Linked DNA regions of Homo sapiens: region 1 is linked to region 2. The links are contacts of gene promoters, found by promoter capture Hi-C in blood cells and fetal thymus (Javierre and others, 2016). All regions are on one chromosome and are shown on one strand. The core of a region is centred on a gene start or on the middle of the fragment in contact, and the rest is flanking DNA. Distances in the headings are between cores, read along the strand shown.

Region 1 (5,234 bases), core at 2,720-5,219, 44 kb after region 2:
CATATATTGGATTTCTTGAACTGTTCATCCTTTTAAAAAATCTTTTCCTTTCATTTTATTTTCTTTGTTCTTTCACTCTACTTTCTGGGAGATATCCTTACCTGTGTCATTGAACTCTTTTTTTTTTGAGACAGAGTCTTGCTCTGTCACCCAGGCTAGAGTGCAGTGGCACCATCTTGGCTCACTGCAACCTCTACCTCCTGGGTTCAAGCGATTCTTCTGCCTCAGTCTCCCGAGTAGCTGAGACTACAGGCACGAGCCACCACGCCCGGCTAATTTTTGTACTTTTGGTAGAGACGGGGTGTCACCATATTGGCCAGGCCTATCTCAAACTGCCGACCTCAGGTCATCTGCCCGCTTTGGCCTCCCAAAGTGTTGGGATTACAGGCGTGAGCCACGGCGCCCGGCTACCCTTTTTTTTTTTTTGAGATGGAGTTTCACGCTTGTTGCCCAGGCTGAAGTGCAATGGCATGATCTCGGCTCACTACAACCTCCACCTCCCGGGTTCAAGCGATTCTCCTGCCTCAGCCTCCCAAGTAGCTGGGATTACAGGTATGCGCCACCACGCCTGGCTAATTTTTGTATTTTTAGTAGAGACGGGGTTTCTCCACGTTGGTCAGCCTGGCCTCGAACTCCCTACCCCAGTTGATCAGCCTGCCTCGGCCTCCCCAAGTGCTGGGATTACAGGTGTGAGCCACTGCGCCCAGCCACCATTCAACTCTTTTGTTGTTTTTCGTTTTTAGTCTCTTATTGTTGTTTCCAGAACATCTTTTTCATTCTTTTTTTTTGAGACAGAGTCTCGCTCTGTCGCCCAGGCTGGAGTGCAGTGGCATAATCTCAGCTCACTGCAAGCTCCACCTCCCGGGTTCATGCCATTCTCCTGCCTCAGCCTCCCAGGTAGCTGGGACTACAGGCGCCCGCCACCACGCCTGGCTAATTTTTTGTGTTTTTAGTAGAGACGGGGTTTCACCGTGTTAGCCAGGATGGTCTTGATCTCCTGACCCTGTGATCCACCCGCCTCAGCCTCCCAAAGTGCTGGGATTACAGGTGTGAGCCACCGCGCCTGGCCCCAGAGCATCTTTTTCATTCTTTGCCTATTCCTTTTCTATAGAATCCTGTTGTTGTTTTGTGGGCATAACATCTTTTATATCTCTAAGGCTAATAATCTTAGATAAAGTTTTCTTCTCCCTCTTATTCTTTTTCTTCTGAGATGCTCTTTCTCTGTCATAAAATAGTATTTCTCAAAGGTAGTAACTCTTGGCTGTCTACTTATATTTAAGAGTAGGGTACTAAAAGGATGTTATAAGCTCTTTGTATGTGGGAAGGGCAGGGAGGGAGGAAGCTATGTTGCCATGAGTTTTACTAGATCGTGACCTGGTACATCCCTTTAAATATCATTAGGTCTTTCCAGTGAGGCTGGATAAAGCCCTAGAGAAGGCTTTTCCCTCTTCTTGACTGTGGATATAAGTTGCTGATGTTTGGGAGACTAATAGGGGAGAAAGGCTTGGAAGACTCAGTGTTCAATATGCAAAATTTAAAAAAAGTCTTCATTTTTAGTATGATAACCCCATCCTTAACTAGGCCAGAAACTCTGTTTTACCTTTCCCTGAAAACAAATCTTCACTGCTCTGCTGAAGAGGGAGTGGGAGGAATGTCTGTGGCTCTAGGTTTTTGTTAAAAAGGCTTTCCAGCCATTCCTCCATTTCTCCTGCTTTGGACTTACCTTCAGCCTCACTTTCACAGGTATCCGAGGTTTCTTTCGTCACTGCTGGTTTCAGATTCAGTGTTTGTTTTTTTTGTTTGTTTGTTTGTTTTTTTGTCTTCTAAATTATTAGCACTTGTTTATGTACCTTCCATCTTCCAAGTTTTTTTTTGCTATTTTCTCCTTTCTTGCTTTCTTCAACCTTGTGAATATATGCTTAATTTTTTTCCCCACTGTCATTTTAGTGCAGGTTTTGGAGAGGAACTAAGGTTAATTCATGTGTTCAGCCTGCAATCTCTAATTGAGAATCCATCCATGCACTTGTGAATATGCCCCAACTCATAGAGCAATTGAAGGGGCTCTCACTGGTACTGTTGGAGTATCTTGTTCTTCAGTCCCTAGACCACAAGAAGTAAAGCATTAGAGGGAGAGGATTGCTGGAATTTAGACCTACCCAGAATGACAAGTGAACTGCATAGGAAGGGACAGAAAAATTATATAAAAATACATACAAGCAGAGCAGTCTGAAGCCATTTAGGACAGGGGCAAACAAAGCTCCACACCTCACTGGCATTGGAAATAGAGTGATAATGCAATAGCAATAGAAAGTATTATGATAAATGCTCATAATAATGATACCAAGTCCTCAAAAAAGATCAAATTATGTTCACTGCACCCTAAGAAGCCAGAAAAAATACTAGAAAGATTTGTGCAAGGAAAATTACTTATGCTGGGCTGGGCACGGTGGCTTACACCTGTAATCCCAGCACTTTGGGAGGCCGAGGCGGGCAGATCACCTAAGGTTGGGAGTTGGAGACCAGCCTGACCAACATGGAGAAACCCCGTCTCTACTAAACAAAACAAAACAAAACAAACAAACAAACAAAAATTAGCCAGGCGTGGTGGCACATGCCTGTAATCCCAGGTACTCGGGAGGCTGAGGCAGGAGAATCACTTGAACCCGGGAGGCGGAGGTGGTGGTGAGCCGAGATCATGCCACTGCACTCCAGCCTGGGCAATAAGAGTGAAACTCCTTCTCAAAAAAAAAGAAAAATGAAAATCATTTATGCTGTGTAATTGTATAGTTGCTTTATAGTTTTAAAAATATTTTCAGCCAGGCACAGTGGCTCACGCCTGTAATGCCAGCACTTGGAAGACTGAGGCAGGTGGATCACGAGGTCAGGAGTTCAAGACCAGCCTGGCCAAGATGGTGAAACCCCGTCTCTACTAAAAATACAAAAAAAAAATTAGCCAGGCATGGTGGCAGGTGCCTGTAATCCTGGATACTCGGGAGGCTGAGGCAGAGAATTGCTTGAGACTGGGAGGCAGAGGCTGCAGACAGCCAAGATTGTGCCACTGCACTCCAGCCTAGGTGACACAGCGAGACTCTGTCTCAAAAAAAAATTTTCACATATATTATTTCATACATACACACACACAAAAAACTTACTTAGAAAAAAAAAACTTAGTAGGAGGCACATGACATTTTTTCCTTCTTGCAGATTAAAGCTTTGAGTTTTATGGATATTAGGACATTTTCTTCAAAACCACATAGCAGTTCAATGAAAGAGCTAACTTTTCTGCTTCCTAAAAATACTTTGGTGTTTCAAAACACAAGTTCCCAGTGTCTGGAAAAATCACTTATGCCTGGTAACGTCTATTCCTGGGCTCCACTTTTGCTAATTGTGTGTTCCTCCAGGGATCTGCTTCCTTGTGCCCGGTGACTCCCCCACTACTTCAAAAACCTTCCATTTTCTTGCTGCCAGGGAAAGCGGTGTGGTGGAACCCACCTGGGCCTGCAAGGCCGTGCTATGCTTGTTACTAGCTGTGTGACCTTGGGCAAGTTACCTTACTGCCAGGTGCTTCAGGGTACGCCTCTCTCAAGTGGGGATTGCAATAGTCCCTACCTTATAAGATTGCTGCAAGGATTAAATGAGTATATATACACACACACACATACACACACATATTTGTATATACTCATTTATAGGTATGTATTGCTGTAGGGATTAAATGTTATATATATATATATATATATATATATATATATATATATATATATATACACACACACATACATATATAATTCTTAATATGCCTTAGCAATTATTATTTCCATTTTCTTAACTCTGGGTCAGAGAATCTTATTTACCTCATATAACAATCATATATGCAGCACTTTAAACCACTGGTAACTCTGCTATACTCTGTTATAGGTTGTGCATAGCATATAATTCATGATATTGGTGTGAAGAAAGGGATGTTTTAATGAAAATACCTCTCAAATGTTTGTGTAGCCATAGATGATCTTTAATTCTGAAAACCTCTCCTGTCTCCAATTCTGAGGTCATAATCCACCTGTCTCTTCAGGCATCTTTCTGTTGAGGTTTAGTTTTGCAGTCACTAAAAGATGCCTTTGTCCTGTTTTTCTGCCCTGCAGATTTTCAGGTTCTGAACACAAGCCCAGTTTCTGCTTCTGATGATCATTTTCAATAGAGCATAAAAAACAGAGCCATGTTCCACGTTTTTACGGCCTCTGCACTTGGCAAAATATTCTTCCCGAATGGCCTCACGTGTGCTCCCTATCATCACGCCTTTTCAGCTAGGCAACGCTCAGAGTCACACCTGAGTGGAGGCCGACGCCCCTTTGGAGGCGACTCCAGCCATAAAAAGTCCTGCTTGGAGCTGGTTTTAGCCACAGAGGGCCAATAAATGGCCCCTTCTGAATGAGGTGCCCCTGCACCTCTGCAGAGCCTGCTGCCAGCCTCCAGGATCTAACTGGGCTCTGATTCACCGCTCCCAACCCCACATCCAGGTAAGTGTGCCCAGCTCTTGTCTCTGCTTCCACCTCAAGATCTGAGTCTCCACTCCCCAGAACCCGGCAGGTTCTGCCTGACAAGGACCTGCAGTCCTCTGCCAGCTGCCACACCCTTGCCAAGGTGTGACTTGGAGTCCTGGAGCCACCTTCGGAGATGTGAAAATTAGCTCCTACTTTTAGCTAAAGCGTTTGGAAAGAAAAGCTTGATCTTTAGCTTTGACCTGGTCTTTAAAAAAACCCTTCAAGGGGAACATCACACACCAGGGCCTGTCGGGGGGGTCGGGGCTGGGGGAGGGATAGCATTAGGAGAAATACCTAATGTAAATGATGTGTTGATGGGTGCAGCAAACCAACATGGCACAGGTATACCTATGTATCAAACCTGCACATTGTGCACATGTACCCTAGAACTTAAAGTATAAAAAAAACCCACAAAAAACCCTTCACATGATTTACTTTCAGAATTGGTGGTTTCCCTTTGTGCGGCGCTGGAATCAATCTTGTTTCTCCTTATTACTTGCGGTGCATTCTGCTTCCTCTAACTTTCAAAAAATTAGTGTTAAACTCTTTTTTTTTTTTTTGAGACAAAATCTCACTCTGTCATCCAGACTGGAGTGCAATGGTGCAATCTCAGCTCACTGCAACCTCCACCTCCAGGGTTCAAGCAATTCTCCTGCCTCAGCCTCCCAAGTAGCTGGGATTACAGGTGCGCAC
Region 2 (5,279 bases), core at 1,735-4,234:
AGAACACACGAGGGACATAAGGGGTGCTGCCGAGGAGGGTGAATGTCACCTCTCCGCCCCACCCACTCAGCATGGGAGTGACACTCTGAAAACCCCTGTCAGGCCAACAGGCATTTTCAGCTTTCCCCAGTTACCCTGGAGGAGGGTTCACCAAACTGCCACCTGGGTGTGTGATTTGGCTGAAGAGCTCTGCCAGGTCCTTCCCACCCACTAAATAAGGGGAAACAATGGTAGGGAGCAGATGTTTGCCCCCAAGCTCCTCAGGGTGGAGGCAGCTTCTCCTTCTTCTGCCTCTGTGTGGGAGTCAACTGAGGAAGATGGAGCCTCCCGGTGGGTGGAAAGGAGGTGTAGAGTGAATGGGGAGGGGAGATGCTCTAAAAGCGTGCCCCAGATGGTGTTGAGAGGAAAATCCCTGGGTTAGAGCTCAACATCCTGGCTCTGTTTCAGTGGCTGTCCCCCCACCTTCACCTTTCCTAGTTATACATCACAGCATCTTTGTCTGTAGAATTCTGGGGGTGGGAGGTGTGACCCTGAGGGCCCCACATCTTCCTCGGTGCACAGTCCCCCAGCACCCACCTCCCCAGAACCCCCACCTGCACCTGCACTGCCTGGCCTTCCTTCCTTAGCAAGACAGAATTCCTGACAGCCCCAGGGGTTAGGAACAGCTGCATGTGAAGCCCACAGCGGCCTTTCTGAAGCTTTACCCAAGTTCTGCTCCCTGGAGCCACATGGAAGGAAGTTCTGCCTGACAGCCTTTCCAGCACCCTGGGAAGCTGCCGATTTATTTTCTTTACCCCTGACTTCACTTATCTAGGATCCCAACAGAGACTGACAAAGCCAGAGACCCTGATGGTTTAGGATTCCAAGGTTTCTTATGCCTCTAGCTGCTCAGCCAGGAGCTTTCTTGATTTTGTGTTTTTCAAATGAGAAGCATCTTACCAGCTAAGTAAGTCTAAGAGTGTCATGACTCATGGACCTTGGAAACCAATGGTCAGTAGTTTGGGATTCTTTGGGTGGATCAAGAGATTTTCTTGGGGACCTAGGAGCACCTCGATGTGTGGAGGGCCTGAGCAGATGGACTAGTGCCCTCCTCTGGATGGAATTGGAGGTTCCCCTTACGCCCCAATCCCTCCACCCCTGCCCTGGGGCTTTTTTTTTTTTTTCTTTTTTTGCTTGGTGGAATGGGAGAGTACTTTTCAAAGTTACAGTTACATAGAAAAGTTAAAATCACAGCACTATTGCATATCTGAGTGCCAAGAATTACGTTTGTCTTGCTGCAGGTGAGGGAAATGAGGTCACTTCTCAAGAAGTTTGCATTTTCTGAGAAAATGTGGACACAATGGAAAAGCCAAGGCATAAAACCATACACCTGAGAAGGCTGAAGCAAATTGCTCCAGGACTTACAGCACAGTGGGTACGTGTTCCGCAGGTGAGAGGCAGCCTCTGCAGAGGCTGACAAGTCCTTTTTGGATGACACTGTGACTCAGCCCTCATATTCCCCTCTCCAGGGCGATGATCCACCTGGTGCTGTGGCTGCTGAGATTCTAGTCATCCTACTCGCTCTAGGCTGGTGTGATTCTTTTGTTTGTTTGTTTGTTTGAGATAAGTCTCGCTCTGACGCCCAGGCTGGAATGCAATGGTTTGATCTCAGCTCACTGCAGCCTCTGCCTTCCGGGTCCAAGCGATTCTTGTGCCTCAGGCTCCTGAGTACTGGGACTATAGGCGCCCAACAACACAACTGGCTAATTTTTGAATTTTTAGTAGAGACGGGTTTCACCATATTGGCCAGGCTGGTTTCGAACTCCTGACCTCAAGTGATCCGCCCACCTCGGCCTCCCCAAGTCCTGGGACTACAGACCTGAGCCACTGCGCCTGGCCTAGACTGGTGTCATTCTGACATTTCCAGGCCACGAAGCAGTCCCAGACTCAGCAGCCCTGGGCATCTGCCGTAGCCCTGTTGTATGATCTGCTCTGCCACTCATGAGGCATGACTCACCCTCCTACCCTCTCCGAGCCTCAGTTTACTCATTTAAATCTCAAAGCCTCCACAGATAATTGGGAAATGAAAGGAAAATCGTGTAAGTATGAATACCTTCCACAGATAGCGGGATCTCATTAATACTAGTTTTCCCCTTTCCATACCTCCCAGCAAAGAAAAGTTGGTAACTGCAGGCCTCTGAACTAGTGCCCCACATCGGAGATACCGGCCACTTCTTACTGAACATTTGCCTGTGTCTACTATAAGGATATAAGATCATCTCAACCTCCCAAGAAGCCGATATTAGCACCCCCATTTTTGCAGCTAAAGAAACTTAGGTGCAGAAAAATGAAATAGCATATTCAAGGTCACAGAATGACCTGGGGCAGAGCTACAGTCTAGACCCCCATCTGTCTGATATAAACCCCATTCTATGAACCCTCAACATTGCTACTCCCCTTCCAACGCCACTGGAGCAGAAAGCTCCAAAACTGGGTGAAGCACATACAGCTCTATAGCAGGCAACCCCATTCCTGTGTTCCACCTAGTGAAGAACCAGGAGGTTGTGCATGACCAAGGTGGTTCAGGGTGAAGGTCAGGGGCTGGCTGAAAATGGAAGGCATCTCAGGCTGGGTCTTTGACTGTGATTATGTCAGGGTTGGGGCTGAAATATTGTGAGTGGTAACTGAGGTTTCAACCTCTTCCCTAGGAAAGAGTGGGGGTGGGGTGGTGAAGCTGGTTAATTGAGATGGGAGGGTTGGGGTGGGGGCAGGCAGAGCCTTCCAAGGCCTTCAGATCCGGTGCTGTTACCGTAAACAAGTGCAACCCTCAGCTCCCTGGAGGGCCTGGGGAGCAAATGCGTGCATCCCTGCTTCGTTCCCAGCAGCTGTTCACTGGAGGACGCAGCCTGCCATCCCCAGCCGACCTCCTCCACAGCCTTCCCCAGCCCCCAGATCAAGCCTCAGGAAGTGGCGCTGCTGAGAATCTCTCCTCCAGCCCTGCCTCCTGCCGAGAGTGTCTTCAGCGCCAGCATTTCCTGGCCTAATTAAGCTGGGTAATGAGTAGCTAAGAGGAGGGGATAAAAGCCCTAGGCGGCTTAGAGCTGGGACAGTTTATGACAGGGGCGTCTGCAGCTGGTGACATTCCTAGGAAAATTATTTCTCATAACCCTGGGAAGTTGCATGCTGTTTCCTTAGCAGCAGAGTAAGCCTCAAAGGTGAGCATGGGGAACACTGCATCTTAAGGGGGCCTGACTGGAGGGTCCTAAAGGTGACAGGTGGGGGGTGCCATGTGTCTGTAGGACTGATCAGAGCTGCAGAGCAGCTACAGGCCACCCGGGCTAATGCCCTTAGCTTAGTCCGAGGCCGGGGCATCCGTGGTGGCCACGTGACTCCCCAGGGCTTGGGTTTTGTGTTTCTTCTGAATGATAGGACTCTGCACAGCATGCAGTTTCTAAGACCGTATCCTTTCAGGGAAGGAAATCTGAGCTAGAGGCTCTGATCCTGACTCCTCCGCAGCCCACTATTAAGGGTGTGAAAATTGTGTTTTGGAAAATATCAGGTGCCCCAGCAGCCAGGAGTGGGTAGAAGAGCTCTCAGACAGGGGCCCTGGGGGAAAGGGGAAGGTGGGCACCAGGCGCTCTGGACACCAGGGCCCGCCCTTCCAGAGACACTCAGGAGCCCAGCGTTGATTATCCCCACTCCCACTCTGCAGCCACAGCCTCAGCCCCCAAATTCTCCTTCTTTGGCACTCAGTTTTGTTTGTTTGTTTTTTGTGTCAGTTCTGTTTGTTTTTGTTTTCTTCAGTCACCTTGCACTCCTTCCTTAGTTGGCCAGGGAACTTCGTGCTGTATGGGGTGGAGCAGGGCAAGGCCCAGGCTCTGGAGCTCGGCCCATCCCCACGTCTCTGAGTGAACTTGGGAGATCAGGTGACCTCTCAGCCATGGTTTTCCCATTTGTAGAATGAAGGCATTAGTGATGTCTAGTGTCCAGTATGTTATGAACCGCAACCTCCACTTGGCCTGTGAGTGGCGAGCGAGGCTGAAATTGGGCCATGTTTCCCAGACCTTTCAAATTAGGTTACCCAGTTTCACCCAAGAACATTTTTGCCCCAATTATCCTGTAAAGCAGAGTCATAGCTAGTGAGTATGTATTTTATTATTATTATTACTGTTATTATTAGAAACAGGGTCTCATTCTGTCATCCAGGCTGGAATGCCATGGTGTGAACATGGTTCGACCTCCCGGGCCCAAGCAATCCTCCCACCTCAGCCACCCGAATGGCTGGGACCACAGACACGTCACCACACCCAGCTAATTTTTGGTATTTTTTGTAGAGACTGGGTTTCACCATGCTGCCCAGGCTGGTCTCAAACTCTTGGGCCCAAGCGATCCTCCTGCCTTTGCCTCCCAAAGTGCTGGGATTACAAGCGTGAGTCACTTCGCCTGGCTGAATACCTGTTTTTGATGATGGAAGGGCCCATTCTCCTGCACTCTTGTAATCAATATTTGTTCTTTTCCAATTTTCTAAACAAGACCTGTCTGGTGCAATGTCCTCCGAGCCCCGCTTCCTCCACGGCTGGAGCCGGGAGCGGCAGGGAATGTGTGGGCATTCCGTCTTTCCTTCTGATCGCCGCCCTTCACCCTCTGCCCTTGGCTGTTCCCACAGTCCCATCTATTCCCCTGGCCTCCTGCTTGTCTCTCTAAACGAGGAGTGAGTATGCAGATCACAAATAACCTGGTGTTTCCGTTTTTCCCTCTGGCGGTGGTTGCCCCTGGAGTGGAAGGAGACCTGGTGGCCAGATGCCTGACATGGCCGGGACAGCTGGTGCTCTCAGCATTCCTGGGGAAGGTCCCTGGGGATTGGACTTGAGGGGATCACACCAAGAAGAGGGGTGAGCAGGCCTGGCAGCTCACCCCTGTGACCCAGCTCACCTCTGGCTGGGCTGCCTGGCATGATCCCCCGGCCCGGCCGGCAGCAGCTGCGCAGGCCAGGGGAGCCAAATGGCTCTGCATGTGTAATCCTAGCTAAAAAGAGAAAGGGGAAAGATCTTGTAATTTCCCAGGACACAGACAACTGAAACCTGACACTCTTGCCAAGGAAGTCCTTTCACTGAGAGAGAGAGAGAGACAGAGAAGGAGGGAGGGAGGGGAGTGTGTGAGAGCCCACTCTGGAAGGTTCCGGGAGAGACAGAGAGAAGGAGGGAGGGCGGGGAGTGTGTGAGAGGCCATTCTGGAAGGTTCCGGGGCCAGCAGGAAGCCCTGAGCACAGCTCTCCTGTGAGTACCCCATGTGTCATCTGC

The links. Contacts are between HindIII fragments. The CHiCAGO score rates a contact against its expected background, and 5 or more counts as called.
Region 1: a fragment that was not itself captured here is called in contact with the fragment with the promoter of CECR3 in region 2 in 8 of 17 cell types (non-activated CD4 T cells, monocytes, total B cells and 5 more); the score reaches 6.6 in non-activated CD4 T cells.

Annotation. Positions count from the first base shown.
Region 1 is chr22:17,221,010-17,226,243 of GRCh38, reverse strand. It overlaps a transcript of ADA2 not described here. Among named protein-coding and RNA genes, the nearest start is that of ADA2, 4.2 kb to the right of the region's middle. The HindIII fragment of the contact is 1,511 bases long and covers 3,214-4,724 here.
Region 2 is chr22:17,264,438-17,269,716 of GRCh38, reverse strand. CECR3 (cat eye syndrome chromosome region, candidate 3) reads left to right here and starts at 2,984. Exons shown (of 3, transcript NR_038398.2): 1 at 2,984-3,194. RefSeq lists enhancers at 1-214, 4,535-5,279. The HindIII fragment of the contact is 21,393 bases long and covers 701-5,279 here.